Linked DNA regions of Homo sapiens: all the other regions are linked to region 3. The links are contacts of gene promoters, found by promoter capture Hi-C in human tissues and cell types (Jung and others, 2019). All regions are on one chromosome and are shown on one strand. Each heading gives the region's core, a stretch centred on a gene start or on the middle of the fragment in contact. The rest is flanking DNA. Distances are from core to core; before and after follow the strand shown.

Region 1 (3,259 bases), core at 306-2,805, 550 kb before region 3:
CAAAATTTGCCAGGTGTGGTGGTGCATGCCTGTAATCCCAGCTACTTGGGAGGCTGAGGCAGGACAATTGCTTGGACGCAAGAGGCAGAGGTTGCGGTGAGCCGAGATTGCACCATTGCACTCCAGCCTGTGCAATAAGAGCAAAACTCCATCTCAAAAAAGAGAAGAAAAGAAAAAAAAATTATTTTTTATGACGTGCAGTACCTCTTATATTTTATACTCCCTATTTTTCACTGGTGTATAGTTGAGGAATCTACATCTCCTGGTTTATAGGGCCTGGTCATGCTTTATGCTTGACTCCTTGGTTTCCCATCCAATTTAGAAGTTGCTCTGGATTATTTTTTCATTTATAACAAAATATTATCACTAATTGTTGCATTAAAACAAGCAAGAATGGGAACCTCTATTTTGTACTTGTAATTTCTGTCATTATCTCAAGTAACAGCATGTTGGATACATGCACAATTAACAGAAATTTTACTTTAACCAGTGACTACACATGTAGAATGACCAGCAATAATTTATCATTCTTTTTTAGATAATTTGCAGATGTTATATTACAGTGCTCTTCTTTAAGGACTTGAAGAAATGCACTTAGTGCAGTGAGCCGAGATCCTGCCACTGCACTCCAGCCTGGGCGACAGAGCGAGACTCCGTCTCAAAAAAAAAAAAAAAAAAAAAAAAGAAATGCACTTAGGCACTTAGATGTTAGATTGTGGTGGGGAAGGTACCGCTGTTGCCCTGTGGGCCATTTACTATTAATATAATAGCCATCTGCACTGTACCCAACAGAGTGGCCTACAAGATGCTGGAAATTTCTCAGGACCTAGTAGCCAGGATCAATGGGCAATCTGAGAGACTGTAGTTCATAGGTACATGGAATTGTGACAGAGTACAAATGCATCTGACCACACTCACTACAGTAGTTTTTTTAAAAATTCTATTGATTTTAATGTCCTATAACCGTTTTATTTCTTTTTTATAAATGTTTTTATTAAAGAAATGAGCTTTTAGAAAGCAAATGGTTAATTAAAAATTACTACTGAATTTCAGTTACTAAAGAAACTTGGTGATGAGTATCATCTTCAAAAATATTTGTAAGCATTATCATCTGTCATAAAAGAACATAATGGTATCATCGACCATAAAAAGCAGACATGCACATTTTAAAGAAGAATCAGATTTACTTCAAATTAGCAGTTAGTTTCCATAAGATTCATCCTCAAACAATTGTTTAATCCATGAGACTGCAGTAGAAAATGTTTCTATATCCATTTGCAAAGCATGACTTTTCATTGAGATCAAATGATTGTTCCATTTTCTTTCATTTTTTTTTATTTGAAGGATTTTTTTCCTTCAAATATAAAGTGAAGTGATAGCTGTTAACACACTGGTTCCATTACTACTGGAAAAGCTTCACAGCTAGGTGTATAAAGTGAGTTTTGTGTTGGTATTACCAGATGCTATAAATGTAAAATTAGCTAATTCTAATAATGGTTTGATAATGATGATTATTATGATTATGACTTTGATTATGGTGATTAAAATCAAAATACAGCTTTTATAAGTTCATTTTGTTGAGTGAAACATTTGAAATTTTAGGGAATGCTTTGTAAATTCAGATGAAAGTTCAGCATTGAAAATAAAATTAGCTGTTTTTGTAGTGATAATATGAATACAAACTTCATAGAGCACATCATGGTGAAAACTATATTTTTACTAAATTAAGAGGCCTACAGTGAAGAAATATGCTAGAAATTGCTGTTGATGCCCTCATAATTCATTATTTCCAAGAAGTTACAAAAATATTCATTAGAATAGCAGTGCACACTTAGCACTTTGATGCTCATCATAAATCAAATTTAGAAGTATTTGAGCTCTGGAAAAATTATTTTGTATATCAATCTGAATGTTTTAAAAATGATAGTAAACTATTTTTTTTTCAAATGAGGCTTTTAAATTTTGGCTGCATGTTTAAAATATTTTGCACAATATTCAATGGTATGAATGCCAAAAATTTATCAGATTTTTAACTTTCAGAGTATCTAAAATATATTCTGTACTGGAATGCAATGACTTGAAGAAAGCCCTCAATTTTGCAGCAACCAGATTTAGCAAAGTATTAAAAAAAGATATATAAAGCAATAACTGACAAGTTTTGTCTTCTGAAATACTTGTCAGTAAAATTCTCTGAATAGAAGGAAAAAGACAATAGCTATGAAAATATTTGGACTGAAATATTTATACATTTTAACATCAAAAATATAAGAATATACTCCATTTTTAAGAATTTGCCCTTGGCTTAGAGTTATTTCACATCCACAGAGAGAATATGTTCTCAACTGAAATTATAAAACAGAGCATGTGGTCCATAGATGATGTCAGAAACTTTAAATATGTTAACTATAACATGAAACTTTGAAAAAGATTACAAACTTTATTTATGAGAAAAACAATAAGACCATATTGAAGAGTGTATTCTTCAGAGAAAAACAATAGCAGTGACACAGTGAGAGAAATACGTATGTTTAAGAAACTGATTAAAGTACACGAATATGTGCCAAGAATAATTATTATGGTTATTCCAATTTAATGCTCAGCTAATCAAATAGAAAAAATGTTTAAAACATTTTTAAATTTAAATACATGAATGCATGCCATTTTTATTTTTAAAAGTGTTTTATGCTTTCAAAAAGTTTTAAATATATTTATACACAAATACAACAGAACTTGTCTGTCAATAAATATATATTTTAAAATGCTATTTTTTTTAATTAATAAAATTTATTTTTAGAGAAGGTTTGGTTCACAGAAAATTAAGCAGAAAGTACAGATAGTTCCCGTTTACCTCCTGTTTCCATACATGTACAGCCTACCCCACTATCAATATCCTGTACCAGAGTGGTACATTTGTTACAATTGATGAACTTACATCTCACTTTATTATCAACCAAAGTCCATAGTTTACATTAAAGTTTATTCACTATTGGTGTTGTGCATTCCATGGGTTTTGACAAGTGTGTAAGTATATAACATGTATTCACTATTAAGCATATTAAAGAATAGTTTACACAGCCCCAAACCCTCTATGCTCTGCCTATTCATCCCTCCCTTCCCTCATCCCTTGGCAACCACTAATCTTTTTACTGTCTCCATAGTTTTGTTTTTCCAGAATATCATATAGTTAAATAGTATTAAGCCTTTTTAAGATTGGTTTCTTTCACGTGATAATAAACACTTAAGTTTCCTCTGTGCCTTT
Region 2 (3,311 bases), core at 371-2,870, 770 kb before region 3:
CCATTAGAAAGAGTGATCTCCATTTTAGCTTAAGAAGTTCAGGTTTAGAGGTGGTAAGTAGATGCTGTGCAGGCATAATTTGAAGGCTGGTCTGTCTGACTTCACTTTCAGTCACTTTACTGATTGCCTCTAAAAATAGAAAGGGAAGGATATCTAACCGATTTTCTCATTGGAGTTTTTACTGGGTTCTTTTTGCCAGGCATTATATTGGCTCTTTAAATACTTCATCCTACTTAACCCACACAACAACTCTATAAATTAGTATTATTAGTCCCATTTAATTGATAAGAAAACCAAGCCTCAGAAAGAAGCAAAGTAATTCAGGCAAGCCCATATGGCAAGGAAGTAACAAATGCTATATGAAATCCTGTGGCTCTGTGCTTGTCTGTCTTTAATATTCAGAGTTGCTCACTATGCTACAATTGCCTTATAATAGATGAGGAAGAAGAAAGGCAGAGGAGCAAGTAGGAGAGAGAGAGAGAACTGACTCCAAACATAGATCAGATACAAAAATGAATTTTTGGACTGACTTTGATAAGGACAGAATACCTCAAAGACAGAATTCTTTGTCTCTATTCTTTAGCAATTTTCCCCCAAGAGTCACTGGGACAAACGAGTAAAACAACTTTTCTTTTGAAAAGATTGGTTGCTTATTCTAAGCCTGCCAAAGATATCTGAAGTGTAACCAAATCTTTGTATTTGATGCCCTTGTGATTCCTTCATTTAGACAATTAGCACAGAATCTTACAGCCCATGAGCTTTGGTTCATGATTTTTTTTTTTAAGTGATGAGCACCTGAGGCTCACAGAGGAAAAGCTTGGCAAGGGTGACCTTGCAGAATAGTGGCCAGAACCCAGTTCTTTTTATTCCCCGTCTAGTGTTCTTTAGCCATGGGTTAACTCGGTGATTAAATATGGTTAAACATGATGAATATTTTAAAAGCTACTTGGAGTTTCTTGGTTCTAAAGTACTCTGAATGCCAAACGCAACATATTTTTATTGCCTATTTCTACCACATAACAAGGCCATTTGCTCTGTGGGATCTTGGTAATAGGGATAAGTAGGAACAAACAGAGGTAAGGTACAGATTCTTTTTCCTCACTAATGTGAACAGATGGCTTACAATGGGAAGTGGATACTGGCTGCAAAGATGTGTGAACCACTGTCACCCTGTGAATCTTTGAGAAAGAGTGGAAGAGGCATCTGGAAATTCAGTGGTTGAGCCCTGAATAAAAAGACACGTTAGGCCTCTCAGGACCTGGTTAAAGTTGTGGGAAGAACATCAGATTGAGAAGCAAGTTACATCTAGTGCTTTCAGGATCTAAAACTTTAGAGAAGCTGATAAACGCTCCTGTGCCTATGCTGGCTGATGTGTTACATAAAATGGGAATTACAATATTTGCCAATGTGCAAGCATGTTAGGTACTTGCATGCATACATTTTCTGATGGTGGTTCTTTTAATCTGTTCTCTCTCTTCTTTCTCTATCAATAATTTTTCTTCAAGGCCTAACAGTGTTGTTATTTTATAATCTTTCACCAGTCTCTTAATAAGAAGTAATTTCTCTTCCCTCTCTTCATCCTGATGTGTGCATGTGTATTTGCTATGATTCTTAATTCAGCATGCTTTTACTTGTGATTTGCTATCAGTATATCTACCTCCTTTACTAAATAGTTAAGTTCTTCTGGGCAAGAGCTATGTTTTCACCATTCCTTTTTCTTCCAGTAAAATTACACAATTTGTTTTGCATAGAGAAAGTTCTTATTCACCATTGATTATGTCATGTTAAATTGTAACCATAGACACTACCTGTGTTCTTCCAGACATAAAGTCTAAAAACTGAGTGTCCATTGTGAGTTATTTGAGAAAATGGCTACAGAAATACTTGGAAATTTACCAGATTATCACAAAGGATATGGAGGCAGAAGCAGAAATCGTGGATATGAGACTGCTCAAAATATATAACTTTAGGCAATCAATTCACTTTACTGGGCCTCAATTTTCTCATCTGTAAATTGGGGATGATAGTACTTGTCTTAACTACTTCCCAGTATGATTGTAAGGATGGCATGAGATAACATTTAAAGGCATTTTGCAAACTATATAGCACTATAGATAGGTCAAGGTTGAGTATTATTTTTATTATTGTTGTAATTGCGGTTATGTGTTACATAATGATGTTGTAGTCAACAGCAGAACACATATACAATGGTGGTCACACAAGATTATAATACTGTATTTTAATGTATCTTTTCTATATTTAAGTGTGTTTAAATACAAAAATACTTACCATAATTTATAATTACCTACAGTATTCAGTACAGTACCCTGTTGTACAGGTTTGTCGTCTGGCAGCAATAGACTATACCATATAGCCTAAGTGTGTAGTGGTCTATACCATGTAGGTTTGGGTAAGTACACCTTTGATGATTACACAATGACAAAATCATCTAATAATGCATTTCTCAGAAACTATCCTCATTGTTAAGCGATGCATGACTATATTACTACATCATAACTCTCTAAAATCTCATGTGGTTTACGTAACTATAATTCTGAACTTGGTGGAGTTTTATAGTAAAAATGGTAAATAAGAGATAACTGTATTAAAAATGGCCATGTTCTTTTGGTCTCCTTGGAAATTTCCTAATGAAACAAGAACTAAAATCTGAAATCTTTAGAATGCTAACAGAGCCAGAACCAATAAACATGTATAATCCAGGCAACCTATTGGCTACTCAGAAATAATAACAGATGAGAATGGGACTGGAGACCAAGGCAGAATGATCACTTGAGGCCAGGAGTTTGAGACCAGCCTGGACAATATAGTGAGACCCCATCTCTACAAAAAAAAAATCAGTAAAAAGAAAAAATAAGTATTCAGGTATGGTGGCTTTAGCCTGTAGTTTCAGCGACTTAGGAAGCTGAAGTGGGAGAATGGCTTGAGCCCAGGAGTTGGAGGTTATAGTGAGCGATGATGTGCCACTGTACTCCAGATGGATGAAAAAGTGAAATTCTGTCTCTGGAAAAAAAAAAATGGACTGGAAGGTATAAGAGGTAGGAGGAGTTTTCTCTTGAGCTTATATTAATCCTTGACTTCTCACAGCAACCTACAATCTTCTGATGTATTTGCCAGCAGTCTCACCTTCAGAGACGCCTCGGCCATTTCAGTGACTCTTTACCAAATTTGAACCCTGCCTTTTTGTTAGTGATCTTGAGCAATTCATTTTTGCTATCTGAATCTGTTTTCTCATCTGCAAGATGGGGGTACATACAAATAGAGACAATAGCCAGCATTTACTGAATAACTAC
Region 3 (3,023 bases), core at 16-2,515:
GGCTCTGTTGATTGCAAACGGGGATGCAGGGTAAATCCCTATCCCAGACTTTCCAAGCCCCAGATAAGGAGCCCACCGCTGACTTCCCCCTTTCTCTGTCACCCACTATCCAGTGTCTCCAAATTCCCATCAGAATCTTGGAGTCTGCCCAGTGTAGAATTTAAAGTGACAGCGTCTCATTTGCCTCGGGGGTTGGCCATGTCTCTTTCATATTAAGCTGTGGGTCCCAGTGTAGCAGGATTCCACCGTTTGGAGGAATTTTCCTTCAAGCGTACCAACATTGGGCTAAATAAGGTGCCATCTACAGCCCCATAATCCTCCCCAAACCCCAAGCCCAGAGCCCCAAGAGGAAGTCCACAGCGGGTTTCCCGGTGACTACGTGATCCTATAGTAAGGGTCCCATTCCGTGTAAGCTGGAGAGACCTAATTAAAAAGACACACGAGGGCACACATACAAACACATACGTACAAACATGCACACACACATCGCGCCGTAAGTAGGTTATAGGACCTCTCTCTCTTCACCCCTCCCTTACACACACGGACACACACACACACCACGAACACACGCATCAAACGCAAACGACGCCGCACACGCAAACACACTAGCACCACATCAAGTTCCCACCATGGTGCACACGTCGGGAGCGCGCGGGGACACACACGCCACTCACTCAAACCCGCAATTAGCCCTTTGAGCCCCAGGCACAGGAACCCCCTCCCTAGAACTGGAGAAGACTTGGAGGCGGCGGGGCGGCCAGGTGAAGAGCGGACAAGGGTGCCGGTAGGGGGAGGGGCAGAGGAGCGCGGGGACGCCCCGAATGCGGCCCGGGGCCGGGTCCAAGGGCAGCGGGGCTGCGGGGCGCTGCACCCGGCGCCGCCTTACCTGGAGTCAATGTCCGTCTTTGGCGGAGAGCTGCGGGAGGACGCTTTTTATTCGGCTCGGTGGGAACTTGGGAGAGCCCTGCGTGCAGCTCGCATTCCGGGCACGGCGCGGGGACTGCAGGCGTGGGGGTACCTGGCTCCTAGCAGCCTGGCTCATACTCAGCCGTAAAGTCCCCTTCGCTGGTCCCGAGGACAGGCATGAATCCCGGCTCCGGAAGGCGGTCACTACTCCCTCTGCCTCCCGGCTCTCTCGCTCTCGCTCTCGCTGTTGCTCGCTCGCTCTCTCCCTCTCTCGCGGGTTCGCTCGCCTGCGCTCTCCTCCTCCCCGCGCGCCAGATCAGTTTGCAGCCGTGGGGTCCGGGAGCGAGGCGGCTGGCGAATGGAGAGGGAAGTCCAAGTGCGCCGCGGTCTCCGGGCGGGGAGCGGCGGAGGCCGGGCTACGCCGGGGGAGGGACTTAGCCGGCGACGGCCGAAAATGAATGGGGGAGCGGCGGCCGGGGGGCGGGGAGGGAGGAGCTGAACGCCGGGGTTGCTTCCGAGGAGTGTTTTGTACATCTTTAGGCGGAGGAGGAGGAGAAGCGAGAGGAGGAGAGACGGGAGGCCGCCTCGAGGGAAGGGCGGCCCGGGTGGGCTGGGGCTGAGCCGTAGGGAGTTTCGTGGGTCTGGGGCGTGTAGGGTGTTGTGTCTATGCGCACGAGCATCCAAAGGGACCGCGCATACGCGCAAACCCGGAATCCTGGTGCCCTTAAGCGTGACTGTACTGTGTGTGTCGCGAGTACCTGAGTGTTTCTGGGGCGGCAGGTGTTTCCACGGCCGCGTGGATCCATCGAGTGTGGGTTTTGTCTCGGGAGTTGCCCGTGTGGGTCCGTTTGTGTCTGCGCGTCTCTCTGTGAGTGTTTGACACTGTTTGTTTCTCTCGGTGTGTAGGCGAGAGCCCACGTAACCTCCCAGAATGAAGCAAGAGCTTCTCTACGTAGGCAGGATGTAGGAGGGAGAAGCTGAGGGGACACGAAGTTCTCTGGAGACCACCAGAGGCGGGGAAGGGGCGAGGGTACAGGGACTAAGACATGAAAATAAAAAGCAAAATACTCTGCAATCAGCCTGAATGCAGGCTGGGGCTGCTAACATAGGGCCTCTTCCTGAAGCAGAAAATAAAGCCCTCGTATGATAATTCCCACACAGCGCACATTTGGTATGTTTGTTTACTTTGCTTCCCTTCTGATTTAAACCAAATCAGCAATGCAGATCCCTAGTCCCCTGAAGATTAGGCAAGAATAGAAAGCATTAAGGCTACCAGATGGAGGGGCAGGAAGTCATAGGAAAAGGTGTTGGAATATGTAAAAGAGCCAGATTCAGTAGAAGTGCAGGCTCCAGAGAGGTTGGAGTCCTGTAGCTGTCTGGTCTTGGTGAAATCACTTACCCCTTAAGCCTCAATTCCTTGTCTGTTTAATAGAATAATAATATATCTACCCATCTAATAGGGTTGATGTGGAATTGTAATGAGTTAATATATGCAAAGGCACTTAGACTGCTCATGAGTTAATGTATGCAAAGGCACTTAGACTGCTCCCTGACACCTAGTGAGTGCTCAGTGCATGTTGTCTGCTTTTATGATTGCCATTGTATGTTTTTTGTTTGTTTTTTAATTCAAAGGATGATAAGAGAGAGATGTGACCACCAGGGAGGCCTAGAACAATCTAGGAGCCAGTGAACTAATTGGAGGAAGAGGAGTCTTGAAACAAAATGGAAGAGAAATGTTTGAGTGATGAACTGGGAACTCGGGAAAAATTATTTAATCGACAAAGAGAAAGGGAGAAAGAGAGGAGAAGACATCGAGCTAGCCAGAATGATCCTGGGTCTCAGAAGGTCAGGACTGAGGGGAGAGGAAAGGGAGAGGAGGAGCAGCCAGTGCAGAGCTTCTCAGCCTTCACTGGAATCCCAATGAGGAGGAGTCAGCACCACGGACAGCTCTCCAGCCACAAACCCAGTCAGCGATTTCTATTTTCGCCTGGTGGAAATTTCTCCCTTTTTTCTTGGGCAACTTTCTCTTTCCCTTGGCTTCTGGTCCAGGTTCAGGTCTTGAACACAGGTTCCCCAGGTCAGTTCTGACTTTGATTCTGACCACGAAGAAATACGCC
Region 4 (3,277 bases), core at 82-2,581, 710 kb before region 3:
ATTTAACGCATTCTATTAAGTCCACATTTTGTGACAGGCACTGGACTAGACTTTTTGTATTTGGAATACAAAAATAACAGTGTAACCCCACCCTTAGGAGGCACAGCATACAGCAATGACAGAGATGGTGACCAGATAACATGAAGTACTGTGCACCATAATGTGCCATAATGTGGAAAGTGCATTGAAAAAGTAATTAGAAAGCTCAATCATGGAAAATGTTGTCAGAGATATGAGGATAGGAAGCCACCATGCACCACTGGTTGTAGAATAGATGTATAGGCATTCTGGAGAGCATTGCAACTATGCCTAGTCAGATTAAGTGTAGAAATAGTCCCATTCCACAAATCTTCCCTGAGGTCAGGAATTCGAGACCAGCCTGGCCAACATGGTGAAACCCGGTCTCTACTAAAAATACAAAAATTAGCTGGACACAGTGGCATGTGCCTGTATTCCCAGCTACTTGGGAGGATGAGGCTGGAGAATTGCTTGAACCCAAGAGGTAGAGGTTGCAGTGAGCTGAGATTGTGCCACTGCACTCCAGCCTGGGTGACAGAGTGAGACTCTGTCTCAAAAAAAAAAAAAAAAAAAAAAAAAGAAAGAAAGAATTTTCATGGACCTACACAAAGGGATGAGTAAAAGGTGTTCATTGTAGGATTTGTTGCAAGGAGTGTGGGAGCACCTCCTTGGAGAATGAGGCAGGTTAAGATATGTCAGCTGTCCAATGGAGAACCAGAAGGTCAGGAGACACTACATACTAGATGTGCACATAGTAACATGGATGGGTCCAGAAAACAGGACAAATAGAATGAGAATCATACTGTTTTCATTTATACATATTAAAAATATGTTAACTACAAAATAATAACATACATACAAAAATTCATATAAACAAAAGCTGATATGGTTTAGCTGTGTCCCCACCCAAAATTTATCTTGAATTTTAGCTCCCATAATTCCCATGTGTCATGGGAAGGACCCAGTGGGAGGTAATTGAATCATGGGGATGGGTCTTTCCCATGTTGTTCTTGTGATAGTGAATAAGTCTCACAAGAGCTGATGGTTTTATAAAGGGGAGTTACCCCACACAAGCTCTCTTGCCTGCCACCATGTAAGATGTGACTTTACTCCTCATTCCCCTTCCACCATGATTGTGAGGCCTCCCCAGCCATGTGGAACTGTGAGTCAATTAAACCTCTTTCCTTTAAAAATTACCCAGTCTCAGGTATGTCTTTATTAGCAGTGTGAGAACAGACTAATACAAAAGGGTACTCATTAAACCCTGTGATGTGGAGAGGGAAATGGGGGCACATGGGAATAAAATAAATAATATAGAAACATATCTTTGTAAGGATGGATCATAAACATTTGTCATGAACTGAGGGGTATGAATTAGCCAACACTATCCATTGAGGAGAAGCAAAGTGATAAAGAACACATAATTTGTCTTAGAGTAAAGGGAAAAATTCCATGGACCAGCATTCATTCAACAATTCTTTTTTTTTGTTGTTTGTTTGTTTGTTTGTTTGTTTTTATTATACTTTAAGTTTTAGGGTACATGTGCACATTGTGCAGGTTAGTTACATATGTATACATGTGCCATGCTGGTGCACTTAGGATGCACCCAGTATCATTTGCTAAGAAAACACAAAGAATAAAATAGGCCAAATCCTTAAATCTAATAAAGCTTAGAACTTATGAGTGTGAAGGCAGTCTAGAAAGAAATATACAAATTAGTATACACTATGATTTCAAGTGGCAGAAATGTTATGAAGAAAGATAAACCAGTATGGAATTAGTGAATATATGGAAGAACAGGGAACATTCAAAATACGGAGACCAGAGAAGTCCTATCTTGAAAGCATAATATTTGAGCATGGATGTGAATAACGTCAAGGAGAGATCTAACCAAAAGTCCAGGTTGGAGAATAAGTAGAAGACTGTTGAAGCAACAATGGATGAGCAATGAGTGAGCTCGTGGTCTCAAAATAACAGGAATAACCACATAGTTGACAAGAATGAACAAGAAGCACAGAGAAGAGGAGGCGAAAGGGAAGGCATGAGGCAAACCACGTAGGGTCTTAGAGGGCAAAGTAAGGAGTATGGATATTATTCCGATTATATGAGAAGCCAGTCATAGATCTGAGCTGGGCAGTGACATGATTTGAATTTTTTTGTTCCTCTACTCTTATTTTAGGGTCTAGAGGAACATGTGTAGGCTTGTTACATAGGTAAATTGTGTTTGACTTACTTTTCAAAAAATGTTCTCTTAGGCTACAGTTGAGGACCTTTCTGGGAGGGCAGGGTCAAGTGTAGAAGTAGAAAAATCAGGCCGAAGACTATTTCAGCATTCCAGGTAGGACATGATGTTCAGTTGGCCTATGTATAATCAGGCTTCAGTGGAATATTTGCTTTGTTTCAGCACACAAGTTCAGGAAAGGATGTTATGAGATGAAGAACATCATTAAACTTAGCTTAGAGATCTGAGCTCTCCAGAGGTGATTTAGGGCACAGGGCAAATGAAGGAGGGTGGAAACACACATGCAAGACAGGCTGAGGTCAGATTAAGAAGCGCTGAATGGACAGACTAAGGAGCTTGGACTCTTTCTTGCAGAAAATGGGACCATCAGGGGAATGGCCTGATGTAACCTTGGCTTTTATGAGATAATTCTGGAAGCCTTGTAAATGATGGTTTGGAAGAGACAGAAGGCAAGAGGTGAGCAAAACTTTAGAGTAAAATTATAGCAGTTTGCAAGGATAAGAAAAGAAATGTTCACGTAATTGAGTATCTAAGGTACTTAAATGTTCTGCATAATGGATATAATTATACCTACTGCATTGGTTTCTTATACTGTTAAATGAATTAGTGCGTGAAAAGTGCTTAGAATAGAATCTGACATATGCTAACCTCTTGATAAACATTAGCAGTTATTCATATATTATAAATATTAATGATATTATTTCTATGTGCTAGTCTATGGACAAGTATTATTTCTAAGGACTAGGCCTGAATAATATATATATTTTTAATTATTTTATTTGATCTTTGAGAAGGAGTCACTCTGTCGCCCAGGCTGGAGTGCAGTGGCATGATCTCGCCTCACTGCAACCTCTGCTCCCGGGGGTTCAAGTGATTTTCCTGCCTCAGCCTCCCAGGCAGCTGGGACTACAGGTGTGTGCCACCAAGCCTAGCTAATTTTTTTGTATTTTTAGTAGAGATGGATGTTTCGTCAGGCTGTTCTCAAACTCCCGACCTCAGGTGATCTACCCATCTCAG

The links. Contacts are between HindIII fragments. The study calls those that stand out against the background at their distance.
Region 1: a contact is called between a fragment that was not itself captured here and the fragment with the promoter of BRINP1 in region 3, in 1 of the 25 tissues and cell types used here (H1 embryonic stem cells).
Region 2: a fragment that was not itself captured here is called in contact with the fragment with the promoter of BRINP1 in region 3 in 4 of the 25 tissues and cell types used here (H1 embryonic stem cells, adrenal gland, mesendoderm cells and 1 more).
Region 4: a fragment that was not itself captured here is called in contact with the fragment with the promoter of BRINP1 in region 3 in 1 of the 25 tissues and cell types used here (H1 embryonic stem cells).

What each region holds. Positions count from the first base shown.
Region 1 is chr9:118,819,039-118,822,297 of GRCh38, forward strand. No RefSeq gene overlaps it. Among named protein-coding and RNA genes, the nearest start is that of LINC02578, 140 kb to the left of the region's middle. The HindIII fragment of the contact is 8,112 bases long and covers 1-3,259 here.
Region 2 is chr9:118,597,763-118,601,073 of GRCh38, forward strand. No RefSeq gene overlaps it. Among named protein-coding and RNA genes, the nearest start is that of LINC02578, 80 kb to the right of the region's middle. The HindIII fragment of the contact is 6,788 bases long and covers 1-3,311 here.
Region 3 is chr9:119,368,170-119,371,192 of GRCh38, forward strand. It overlaps BRINP1 (BMP/retinoic acid inducible neural specific 1), which reads right to left and starts at 1,266. Exons shown (of 8, transcript NM_014618.3): 1 at 887-1,266. RefSeq lists enhancers at 665-1,186, 1,187-1,709, 1,710-2,230. The HindIII fragment of the contact is 11,628 bases long and covers 1-3,023 here.
Region 4 is chr9:118,657,207-118,660,483 of GRCh38, forward strand. The region is part of intron 3 of LOC102724929 (a long non-coding RNA gene); the gene reads right to left. Among named protein-coding and RNA genes, the nearest start is that of LINC02578, 21 kb to the right of the region's middle. The HindIII fragment of the contact is 7,495 bases long and covers 1-3,277 here.